Linked DNA regions of Homo sapiens: all the other regions are linked to region 1. The links are contacts of gene promoters, found by promoter capture Hi-C in blood cells and fetal thymus (Javierre and others, 2016). All regions are on one chromosome and are shown on one strand. The core of a region is centred on a gene start or on the middle of the fragment in contact, and the rest is flanking DNA. Distances in the headings are between cores, read along the strand shown.

The links. The method cuts DNA at HindIII sites, captures the fragments that hold promoters and counts their contacts. A CHiCAGO score of 5 or more calls a contact.
Region 2: the fragment with the promoter of PCDHGA1 here is called in contact with the fragment with the promoter of YIPF5 in region 1 in 1 of 17 cell types (total CD8 T cells); the score reaches 5.7 in total CD8 T cells.
Region 3: a fragment that was not itself captured here is called in contact with the fragment with the promoter of YIPF5 in region 1 in 1 of 17 cell types (neutrophils); the score reaches 12.2 in neutrophils.

What each region holds. Positions count from the first base shown.
Region 1 is chr5:144,168,523-144,172,582 of GRCh38, reverse strand. It overlaps YIPF5 (Yip1 domain family member 5), which reads left to right and starts at 1,924. Exons shown (of 6, transcript NM_030799.9): 1 at 1,924-2,048; 2 at 2,618-2,737. The coding sequence starts at 2,628. KCTD16 (potassium channel tetramerization domain containing 16) reads right to left here and starts at 1,710. Exons shown (of 4, transcript NM_020768.4): 1 at 1,574-1,710. RefSeq lists an enhancer at 1,783-2,062. The HindIII fragment of the contact is 8,610 bases long and covers 1-4,060 here.
Region 2 is chr5:141,328,157-141,332,216 of GRCh38, reverse strand. PCDHGA1 (protocadherin gamma subfamily A, 1) reads right to left here and starts at 1,703. Exons shown (of 4, transcript NM_018912.3): 1 at 1-1,703. The coding sequence starts at 1,532. It also overlaps PCDHG@. The HindIII fragment of the contact is 2,043 bases long and covers 1,190-3,232 here.
Region 3 is chr5:146,175,201-146,179,260 of GRCh38, reverse strand. It overlaps LARS1 (leucyl-tRNA synthetase 1), which reads left to right. Exons shown (of 32, transcript NM_020117.11): 2 at 1,596-1,714. Among named protein-coding and RNA genes, the nearest start is that of LARS1, 5.4 kb to the left of the region's middle. RefSeq lists silencers at 1,529-1,729, 2,549-2,749, a cis regulatory region at 3,539 and an enhancer at 3,455-3,624. The HindIII fragment of the contact is 6,562 bases long and covers 1-4,060 here.

The sequences.
Region 1 (4,060 bases), core at 675-3,174:
AAAATGATTGATGAAAGGTGGTGAACACTTGAATGAGCAATTTCAGAAATTCAAAAATATAGTTAGAAAGCACAAAAATCTAGTGTTCAGTGGCAAAATAGGGTAGCTATAGTTAACAATAATTTATTGTATAGTTCAAAATAACTAGGAGTAGATTTATAATTTTCTCTACACAAAGCAATGACAAATGTCTGAGGCGACAGATATATCTCAATTACCCAGATTTCATTATTACACATTGTATGCTTGTATCAAAATGTCACATTTATCTCATAAATATGTACAACTATGATGTATCCACAAAAATAAAACAAATAAATTCGCTAATGGGTAAAAACCTCAAAGGGCAGCTGCCTGTTGGTCTCTAGAGTACAATCCTAGGTTTTTTGGTTGGGTCTTACATCCTTTTGTTGTTGCTATTTTTGTTTGGAGGGGAGTGCGTTTTCTGTTTGTTTTATTGGGGTGGGGGGTGTTGAGAGAAAAGTTTTAAGTGAAATTTTATTGTTCCTTTGGAAACTAGTCCCCAACAATGGTCTGGCTTCTTTTGTGAGGGCCTCAGGATTTTGATCCCAGAATATAATGCAGTGGCTCATGATAAATTTTATTGCTATAAACCCTGAAGAAAGTTCTGCTCATTAGTTAATAGCATCTTATTTCGAGTCACAATATTCGGGATTCCACCATCTTGGGAAAGTGATTTAACACAGGAGCCAAAGCAATCATTTTCAAAAGAAAACAATTTAAACATCACTCATCAGTTCACAATCTTCACTTCTTTTAGAACCAACACACAAATCCCACAGGATATTTCCTGGCCCCTTCCTGTTATTCCAGCCTCAACTCCTATGTGGCTCCCCTCACTTGCTGTTCCAGTCACTCAGGTTCCACTTAGAAGAGTGGTTGACAAATTCAGCTAATGTTGCCCCCACCGCCCCCAAGGACATTTGGATTTGGCAATGTCTGGAGAGATTTTTAGCTGTCACAACTTGGTGGTGATGGTGGTGGTGGTTGGTTGGGGGGAGTACTGGCATCTAATGGCTAGAGATTAGGGATGCTACTGCTAAGCATCATGCACAGGGCAGCCCCCAATAAAGAAACATCCTGACTCAAAATGTTAATAATGCTGAAGTTCAGAGCTCGATTTTCATCTTTCCTCAGACCATGCTTCCCAGATCTTGCACACATTGTTCTCTTTGCCTAAAATATTCAGGCTATTTTCCCTTATCCTCCTTTCCCGTTGCCCTTTCTTCTCTTTTCTGGTCTTCTCTAACTCCCACTCACCCTTTGATAACCCTCTTATAGTGGCTTTACAGACTCTTCTTCCCAGATGAATGTTACTCTTTCAAAGAATTATGGAACACTAAAGAATATTAGTAGCAATTTCACATGCATTTGTATGTGTTCGATTACCCCTCTCCACCACCAACTCCAGGTGGGTAGATGTCACCTAGCTTATATTTACCACAGTATCCCCAGCAGCTAGCACAGAATGAATGAATACTTAATAGCTTCACTTACAAAAGGGAAATAGGGTAACCATCTCATTAGGTTGTAAAGATTAAATAATACATACAAACACTTTAGCACAGTGCTTGAATCACAGTAAATGCTGACACCGAGGCATTGTAGGCATTGTAGTTTGTGGACAGGAGAGGGGACTCCGTCTGTCTCATTTTAGCGCCTCCCAGTCTTCCTCCATCACCTAGGTCTGAGAAACTCCTCCTCCTACCTACGAGTAAGCAGCAATTGCTACGCCTGCGCTTTCCTGGTTCCACCCCTAACCAGGCTGCCGGAAGCACTTTCCTCTTTGGCACGGGCCAGCCGCAGGTTGGGTAGATACTGCGCAAGCTCCATACTCGTGTCTCCTCCTCCCGCCCACCGGTGCCCAACCTGCTAACACGCCTGCGCGAGCGGGCGTGCCCCGGAAGCCGTTCTTTGGCCCTGTGACACGTAGCAACGGGGCTGGTTCAGGGTCTGAAACAGAGTTTGGGGGTTGTTTGGGATTAGTGAAGCTACTGCCTTTGCCGCCAGCGCAGCCTCAGAGTTTGGTGAGTGACCCAGGCCCGTGGCACAGTGTTCAGCTTCTCTCCACACCCGTGCAAATGGGCTTGTTGCCGTCTTTCGGCGCCGCGCCCTGGTCCTTTCGCTCAGACCCTCGCTCTCATTCAAGCCCTTGCCCTGACGCGGTCCCCTGCACCTCAGGCGCGACCTTCCAGATTCTGCACTTTTTCCTGGCAGGCCGCAGGCCTTATTTTGCAAGGAAGCAGTCGCCTTGTCAGCTGTAAAGCCCAGTCCTAAGGTGAAAAATCATCTTTGTTGTTATTGATATTTTAGACCGCTTATGGAACCACAACTCCCACGACCTCGCCCCTAATGGAAGGCATATCAGCTCTTTAAGGTGGAGTTGTCTTACTGGGCCGCAACTTAAAAGAATATACATTTTCTTACTCTCTCTCCGCTACCGTCGTTCAAATGCTGCGTACTTTCCGCCCCCATCCCCTCTCCGAATTACTGAAAAAATATTTGTTGTGTTTCTATTTGCTTAAGCAGACTGCCAGGAACGAATTCAGTAGAACCTTGGGCATAAGGAATATTTGCCATTTCTCTTTTATTACAGATTATTTGCAATGTCAGGCTTTGAAAACTTAAACACGGATTTCTACCAGACAAGTTACAGCATCGATGATCAGTCACAGCAGTCCTATGATTATGGAGGAAGTGGAGGACCCTATAGCAAGTAACTTTTCATCTTTGGCAATTAATTTAGTCTACATTGCAGTGAAAACACATATTTAGAATATTTGGTTCTGCCTAAAACAATATGTGAACATGTCCTTTATCAGGAGTATGATCTTTCATGCATAATCTTCTTCCTCTAGAGAGATATGTGACACTGGCTTGGCTTCGAAGGTATTGTTCTATTTAAGAGTTGAGTGTCTTCTGCAAACTCTTCAGGTGTACCATGAATGGAAAAGTAGCTTGTTTGAAGAACTGTTTTCTAGTAACAGTATTTCTGTATTTAGAAGATGATGGGAGCTTCAGGTACCTAGGAGATAGGCTGTTAGTTCATAGGACCAGTGAAAAATTAAAGTATTTTGTTAGTAGTTAAATCAGTCCAACTCTGAGACTTTTATCAGTGCTAATTGAAAGTGCTTAGTGACATTATTTAATGATGTAAGCTCCTTATTACGAATCATCAGGCGATTTTCATACAGCAGTTGATAATCATTTTTATTACTCCTCCTTCTCAAACCCTTATGGTCAGTGCCACACGTGTTATAAGTTGCATACTGAGGAGGTTGACTCAAAGCCGTTAGCCTCTGAACATTTTTTTTTAAATGATCTTTTTATAGTACCTGGTGTTTGTGACAAAAATACATGAACTGAAGGCTTTCTAGCAATCTCACCTAAAACATCATCTCCTTAGTTTCTTAGGACCCTAGAGATAATCTTATCAGCTTCCTGTCAAATAAAGGAGCTTCCTATACTAGGATTGCTTAAACTTTTTTAGATGGTTCTGGATCTCTTTGAGAATCCTATTACAACTGGGCCTCTTTCCCATAAATACATGCATTCACTCAAACACCCAAATAAATGTGCATATATAACTTCAGACAATTCATGTGTTAAATGATGTTCATCATGGATCCCGAATTTGAAACCTCATAAAGACTGTTCCACGATGAGGGCAGGGGAAGGTTATGTATCTGTCAGTTTGTGAGAAACATGCAATACAGGAATGTGTTTGGATTAGAGTGCCCAAGAATTTAAAAAACAAAACAAAATTCAAATTCACTGTGGCTCTGTAATAGTGTCTGTCTTGGTTAGGCTATCCTTTCTAAAACATATAGTCTCTTTGAGTCTGCTTAATTTGGTATATTTTAAGGCTTTGTTTTCCCCTCTAAAACTTAACACATTTGAACAATGGGAGTGAGCATGTCAAAATACCCCGTGATTCATTTCTCTTTTCTGTTACTTAATTACATACCAATGAGGATTTATCTCTTTTGATAAATTAATGGGCAGAGTTGGAAAATTTGTATTGAGGTATTTCCATTCA
Region 2 (4,060 bases), core at 454-2,953, 2.8 Mb after region 1:
GTGTCGGAGTTGATGGAGAGGTAGGCAGATAGGGGTGCCCCCTGGATAGTGTCCTCTATTAGGGAGTAAGTGATTTGTGCATTCTCATTGCTGTCCAAGTCGTGGGCCCTCACAGAGAAGATGGAGGCTCCTCTGGGGTTGTTTTCGGGAATGTAGGCAGAGTAGGAGTCCTGATGGAAGACTGGGGAGTTGTCATTGATATCTGTCACTAGTAGTGAAATGTGAGTTTCAGTAGATAGAGCTGGAGTTCCTTGGTCTATTGCTGTTATTGTGATGTTGTACCCAGAGATAAGTTCTCTGTCCAGTGTTCTTTCAGTCACTAAACGGTAATAATTATCAACTAACTTTTCCAATTTAAAGGGTAAATTTCCAGGAATGAAACATGTGGTGTAGCCATTGTCTCCTGAGTCCTGGTCATGCACACTGATAAGAGCAATTATGGTCCCAGGAGGAAAGTTTTCTGGAACTGCAGTGGTGACAGAGGTGATGGTCACTTCTGGGGCATTATCATTTACATCCAAAACTTTGATCAGTACCTTAACTTTAGCCATGAGCCCCGCACCATCCTGGGCTTGAACTTCCATTGAATACATTTTGTATTCTTCGAAATCTAGTGGTTCTTTATTTGATATTTCTCCTGTGTAAGAATCTAAACGAAATATTTGGGCCACTCTGTGGTCTACATTGTGAAAGGAGTACGTTACTTCCCCATTGGCTCCCTCATCAGGGTCAGTGGCATTTACCATGAGCAGCTGAGTACCCAGCGGCACGTTTTCGGGGACATTTATATGGTATTGTGCCTGAGTAAATGCTGGAGGATTGTCATTTGCATCCACCACCTGAATGTAAATTCTGAGGGTCCCTGAACGGACTGGTTCACCCCCATCAGAAGCTGTGAGGATGAGGTGGTGGACAGCTTCTTCTTCTCTGTCTAAGGGACTCTGCAGCACCATCTCTGGATGTTGAGGCCCATCGGCTCCCTGTTGCACATCCAGGGAGAAATGAGGGTTAGAGCTGAGTTGGTAGCTCTGGAGTGAGTTCATACCCACATCAAGGTCTTGCCCAAAAGGCAATGAGACTCTGGTACCTGGAGTCGTTATTTCATTCATTTTAAACTCCAGTTCCTCTAACTGGAATTGGGGAGTGTTGTCATTAATATCAATTATTTCTACTTCAACAGGAAAAAGCTTCATTTTATCCTCAACAAGGATATTAAAACTCACGAGACACGGCATGCTCTGAGCGCAGAGCTCCTCCCGGTCTATCCTGCGCGCGGTGATCAAGCTGCCACTTCTAGGATTCAGAGCGAAAAGCGGCATCCTACCTCTGGAGACGATGCGGACTCCGCCATCTGCCAGCTCCTGGGGTTGCAGCCCTAGGTCCTTGGCGATGTTGCCTACGAAGGAACCTTTGTCTGTCTCTTCCGGCACTGAGTAGTGAATATTCCCAGCCCCAGCTTCCAACAGCAGCTCCAGAGAAAGACACAGAAGCATCAGCCTGCTGCAGCCAGTCAGCTTTTTCTGAATCTTCATGGCTCTCTCACTTCGTAGTTTTCTTCCAGTCCAGTACCAAGGGTATCGTTTCTGCTTTTCTGAGCTGAAATTAACCCAATTTTCAGGAGAATTCTGACTGGAGAGTCATCCAGAAGTAGGATTTAGGCAGTCTTGGACAGTCAGTTTTCAATCTGGCGGTTATGGAGGTTCTAAGAGGCACGAGAGCTTTTTTCTTTTTCTTTTTTTTTTTTTTCCTCCTCCTGACCTGTGTGTACTGCCTGTATCTACCAGATTAGTGAACAGCGGCGCCCACAGTCCTAACCAGTTACTGCATTCCTAGCAAATACTGAAAACCTTCTCATTAACTTGTTATTTTCTTAAGTTTTAGTCTATTGTCAAGGAAATAATTCTACAATATATGTATGAAAAAGAGAAACTATATGTTCACTTCTTTAAATGTGCCTAAATGTCACCAAATTGAAATATACAGGAGAATCCAAGTATTCCCATGTTATCTGCTTTCCAAGTTTGCTATTCAGGGAATTATAGTAAAAACCTAACATTACAATGAGGACAAAATCATCTCTCCACTTTTTCTGTAGTAAAGTTTGACCACTTGGTAATTTCCCAGGCCACATAGAGCAGCTCCCCTTTGACTGGAGGGTGAAAAGTATTAGAGGGAAAAATAATCTTTTAGAATATAAGCTAGACTTTAAAAAAATCATACCATCCCATTTCCTTCCCATTATGATTTGAATATTTATCAGAAACCTTGGGATTTTGAAGAGCATGGTTTAACCCTATCCTTATTTTTCCTCTTTTTTTTTTTTGAAGTGTCTTTGCATTATGTGGGTTTTTAAAAAATTCTTAAGATTCACCAAAGGCAATATATTTTGAAAAAAATAAAACTGGGCTCTTGGAATTTCATTGAAAAGTCACATGAATATATAATTTAGATTTCAAATTTCAGAGACAAAGTCTATGATATTATTCTTCACAGCTGAAAAGAAAAATGGTCTCATCTTTATTTTTAGATAGGCTCTTATAATATGTATTCCTCTATAATCGCACTTAATATTTTCTCCAAGAGAAGTTGGTTTTCTCTTAACAGTATTTTTTAACCAGTTGAGGATGTGGCCTTCTTTTTTTTTTAATCACTGCACTATTAGCAAAGGGTTACTAATTAAAATGTCTCAGGCTTAGAGTGACTTACTTATCTTTACCCCAAAGTTAGAGAAGCATGCTATCTGTACTCCAGAGTCTGATAATTTCAGGAACAAATTCGGCCAGCCAACCCATGGACACCATGACTGAGAAAAGTTAAAAATGAGGAAAGAAAGAAAACAATGAAAGGTCTCAATAATAGTTTTTGGAAAGAGAACTTTAGTTCTTAACCAAATCTACAGTTTCTCAGCTTCTCAAAGACAAGTACATGGAGCCAAAGAGTAGAAATTTAAAGGTGCAATAAATCATCTTCAATATTGCAAGGAAGTAACTCTTTAACAGAGAATGTAACTTTTCAGAATACACATTAATAGGCATAAACTTTTCCCCAAAGAAATTGTGAGCTAATGAGGTAAATTAAAATATACATAAGAACTAGTAAGTAAACCTGTAGAGCTCCCTACTTTCAGCAACCAAAAACACGCAGGAGTGATTTATAAAAGGATGGTAAGTATAAAATAAAAATGTTAAAATATCACACAAATACATTTGAATCAAATGCAACATTTAAAGCTTCATTGCTGCCCACACACAGTGGCTCACGCCTGCAATCCCAGCACTTTGGGAGGCCAAGGTGGGCAGATTACTTGAGGCCAGGAGTTTGAGACCAGCTTGGTCAATATAGTGAACCCCGTTTCTACAAAAACAAAAATAAAACAAAGCTTCATTGCTGGCACTGCAGAGAATACCTGGTTCAAAGCTGTTTCTTGAGTTAAAGAAATTAAGATTTTAAAAATATCTAAAACCACACATACGTTGTAGGAACAGGGCAAATTTCCTTTCTTTAAGTTGGAGACAACTCCATATCCGGGCTTGGACCAGAGATCCAGCTGAAAACAGCCCCAGGCAATGGAGCTATAGGGGGCATTGCAGGTTCAGAGAGATGGCCAGAGTCACACTGAGGAGAAACAGCATGGAGATCAAGGCAACGGCCATCGCCAGCTGTTGGGTGCTGTCTGCTGCCTGCTGTTGGGTGCTGGGCGATTGCTGAGGTCTGGTAGCAACTCCTGCAAACTATGAGCAGCAACCAGGTGATGTTTCAGCGTGATGATTCACCATTGACCACGGTGACCAACAAACCTTGGCAGGTTGCATCTCTGTTACCCACAGTGACACGGCACGCATCTAGCTCGTGCACATCCCTAGTTTGAAGAGCCACATTAGCTGGCCTGAAGCACATGATAGGACAGTCAGCCTTTATGCCCCAGCTGGTGTCCACTTTGGTGATGGGATAGCTGGGTTGCATTGTGAGTGGTGCAGCATCAAAGAGGGCCCCACTTGGCTGCAACTCCTGGCATAGTGTCCTTGCATTTTTGCAATGGTCATCCACCATCACATGCAGG
Region 3 (4,060 bases), core at 650-3,149, 2.0 Mb before region 1:
GAACCCCAGAGATGGAGGTTTCAGTGAGCTGAGATTGGTCTTGCTGTGTTGCCTAGGCTGGAGTGCAGTGGCTCCATCTTGGCTCACTGCAACCACCGCCTCTTGGGTTCAGGTAATTCTCCTGTCTTTGCCTCCCGAGTAGCTGAGATTATAGGCGCATGCCAACGCATCCGGCTAATTTTTGTATTTTTAGTAGAAATGGGGTTTCGCCATATTGGCCAGGCTGGTCTTGAACTCGTAGCCTCAGGTGATCCACCTGCCTCGGCCTCTCAAAGTGCTGGGATTACAGGCATGAGCCACCAAACCTGGCCAAAAAAATTGTTTTTCTTTTAAAGAGGAGGTCTTTCTATGTTGCCTAGGCTGGTCTCAAACTCCTGGCCTCAAATAATCCTCCCTCCTCAGCCTCCCAAAGTGTTGGGATTGTAGACATGAGGCACTACATCCAGCCAAGTTACTTATTAAGAAGAGGTTTTGAAGTGAGAGGGGGCAGTGGCGTTGATAGTCTAAATGAAGGTGGTTAGTAGCAGGAATGGAAAGGGATGAACAGTTGTGCAGGCTTATTATTTCTTAGAAAAGAAAATACCTTATACAATCACTGTTTTATGGAAACTTGAAAAGAGTCCAGGTATTTTTTTTTTTTTGGTGGGGGATGGAGTTTCGCTCTTGTTGCCCAGGCTGGAGTGCAATGGTGCAATCTTGGCTCACTGCAACTTCCACCTCCCAGGTTCAAGCGATTCTCCTGCCTCAGCCTCCCAAGTAGCTGGGATTACAGATGCGTGCCACCTTGCCTAGCTAATTTTTGTATTTTTAGTAGAGATGGGGTTTCACCACGTTGGCCAGGCTTGTCTCTAACTCCTGACCTCAGGTGATCCTCTCACCTCGGCCTCCCAAAGTGCTGGGATTACAGGCGTGAGCCACCGTGTCCAGCCTGTTTTATTTAAATTTCATATGAACAGTTCTTTAACAATTTTGGAGAGAAGTTCTCTATCAGTATCTTTGATATTCATGTATTTTAATTAAATAGAAACATTTGATGACAGTGTTACATTGTAGTATATAATTTTAAAAAAGCATATCAAAGCCTTTTACATATTTCAGTAATTGTTCAACCATTTCTTTGAGGTTTGAGGTACACAGGTCATGATAATCCTAATTTTTTTTTTCTGGCGGAGTCTTGCTGTGTCACCCAAGCTGGAGTGCAATGGCATGATCTCGGCTCACTGCAGCCTCCGCCTCCCTGGTTCAAGCGATTCTCCTGCCTCAGCCTCCTGAGTTGCTGAGATTACAGGTACCCGCCACCACGCCCAGCTAATTTTTGTATTTTAGTAGAGATGGGTTTCGCCCTGTTGGCCAGGCTGATCTCGAACTCCTGACCTCAAGCAATCCACCCGCCTCGGCCTCCCAAAGTGCTGGGATTACACGCATGAGCCACCGCGCCTGGCTGATAACCCTAATTTTTAATGTTCATTTAAATTTCAAGATAACCATGGAAAAATCAGTCTTTATCAGTGAGCAGCTCAGTTCTGTGAACCCAATTCTTTTTTAAAGCAAGCGTGCTGAAATACAGAGTGGATTATTCTCTTTGTGTCCAATAGGAAAGAAAAGGAACAGCCAAAGTGGACTTTTTGAAGAAGATTGAGAAAGAAATCCAACAGAAATGGGATACTGAGAGAGTGTTTGAGGTCAATGCATCTAATTTAGAGAAACAGACCAGGTGAGTAATAGTTTGTGAAGTTCTGCACATTGTATTTCTATATATATATATATATATATATATTTTTTTTTTTTTTTTTTTGAGACGGAGTCTTGCTCTGTCGCCCAGGCTGGAGTGCAGTGGCGCAATCTCGGCTCACTGCAAGCTCCGCCTCCCAGGTTCATGCCATTCTCCTGCCTCAGCCTCCCGAGCAGCTGGGACTACAGGCACCCACCACCATGCCCAGCTAATTTTTTGTATTTTTAGTAGAGATGATGTTTCACTGTGTTAGCCAGGGTGGTCTCGATCTTCTGACCTCGTGATCCACCCGCCTCGGCCTCCCAAAGTCCTGGGATTACAGGCGTGAGCCACCACGCCCGGCCCTGTGCATTGTATTTCTAAAACCGTTGGCTTTATAGTACAGAAACAGCTTGGTGGAACCCATAAGGTAGATTGTATTTATAATGCCTGAAACAGGGTGAAGGAGGTGACTTTCACTTTCTGCATATGAATTAGGATCTTTTTTCTTATGGGGTTTGTAAAGATTTTTTTTTCTAAATAAAGTTTGTTTTGTTTTGTTTTAAAGACTACAGTATTTTAAATATTTAGACAAAGAAGGATGTTTTGAGATTTTTTTCTTTGCTGACTGATAAAACGAAATTATTCTATTAGACTCATAGACGATTATTATCTCCAAAGACAGAAAATGTAAATTTTTATGTTTTTTCTTTACAAGTAAACCTAATGCTTATAGAAGTATAAATGTTGAAGATATTATTTCATAAATACTGCATTGCCTTGATACTAAAATAATACTGATTTAAAGACAAACGTAGATCATGACATGATATTTGGGAAAAACAAAAACAAAATAACTCCCCCAAACATTGCCTTAATAAATGTATGCATCAATTATAAGATATATCCCAGATTCATATATGTTGAGATGTAAGAAAATGTGCTTTTTCAGATTGAAGAAATACGGTTATAGTAACAACAATAATAGTAAGTTAACATTGAACACTTACTGTGTGCTAGCAAATGTGCTAGCAAATTTTTTTACATGTATACTCTCATTTAATCTTCTTTTTCTTTCTTTCTTTTTTTTTTTTTTTTTTTGAGACAGTCTTGCTCTGTCATCAGGCTGGAGTGCAGTGGCGCCATCTCGGCTCACTGCAACCCCCAACTCCCTGGTTAAAGCGATTCTCCTGCCTCAGCCTCCTTAGTAGCTGGGATTACAGGCATGTGCCACCACGCCCAGCTAATTTTTGTATTTTTAGTAGAGACGGGGTTTTACCATGTTGGCCAGGATGGTCTCGATTTCCTGACCTCGTGATCCGCCCACCTCAGCCTCCCAAAGTGCCGGGATTACAGGCATAAGCCACCGTGCCTAGCCTTTTTCTTTCTTTCTTTTTTTAGACAAAGTCTTGCTGTGTCATTCAAGCTGGAGTGCAGTGGCACAGTCATAGCTCACTGTAACTTCAAACTCCCGAGCTCAAGCAATCCTTCTTCCTCGGCCTTCTGAGTAGCTGGGACTACAGGCATGCGCCACCATGCCTGGCTAATTTGTTTTTTCTTAGAGACAGGGTCTTGCTATGTTGCCCAGGCTGGTCTCAAACTCCTGGCTTCAAGTGATCCTTCTGCCTTGGCCTCTCAAAGCTCTTAAGATTATAAGACATGAGCCATCACTCCTGGCCTCATTTTACCTTTTAATTTTTTTTGTTTTTGTTTTTTTTTTTTGAGACGGAGTCTTGCTCTGTCACCCAGGCTGGAGTGCAGTGGCGCAATCTCGGCTCACTGCAAGCTCCGCCTGCCGGGTTCACGCCATTCTCCTGCTTCAGCCTCCTGAGTAGCTGGAACTACAGGCGGCTGCCACCATGCCCGGCTAATTTTTTTGTATTTTTAGTAGAGATGGGGTTGCATTGTGGTCTCGATCTCCTGACCTCGTGATCTGCCTGCCTCGGCCTTCCAAAGTGCTGGGATTACAGGCGTGAGCCACTGCGCCCGGCCTTTTTTTTTTTTTTTTTGAGGTGGAGTCTTGCTCTGTTGCCTAGGCTGGGTGCAGTGGCATGATCTCGGCTCACTGCAACCTCTGCCTCCCGGGTTCAATGATTTTTCTGCCTCAGCCTCCCCAGTAGCTGGGATTACAGGTGCATGCCACCACGCCTGGCTAAGTTTTAATTTTTGTTTTTAATAGAGACGGGGTTTTGCCATGTTGGCCAGTCTGGTCTCAAACTCAAATGATCCGCCTGCCTCCGACTCCCAAAGTGCTGGGATTACACGCGTGAGCCACTGTGCCCGCCCATTATCTTTTTTTTTTTTTTAATTTGGAGACAGAGTCTGTGGTGTCAGATGGAGCGAGCCTCT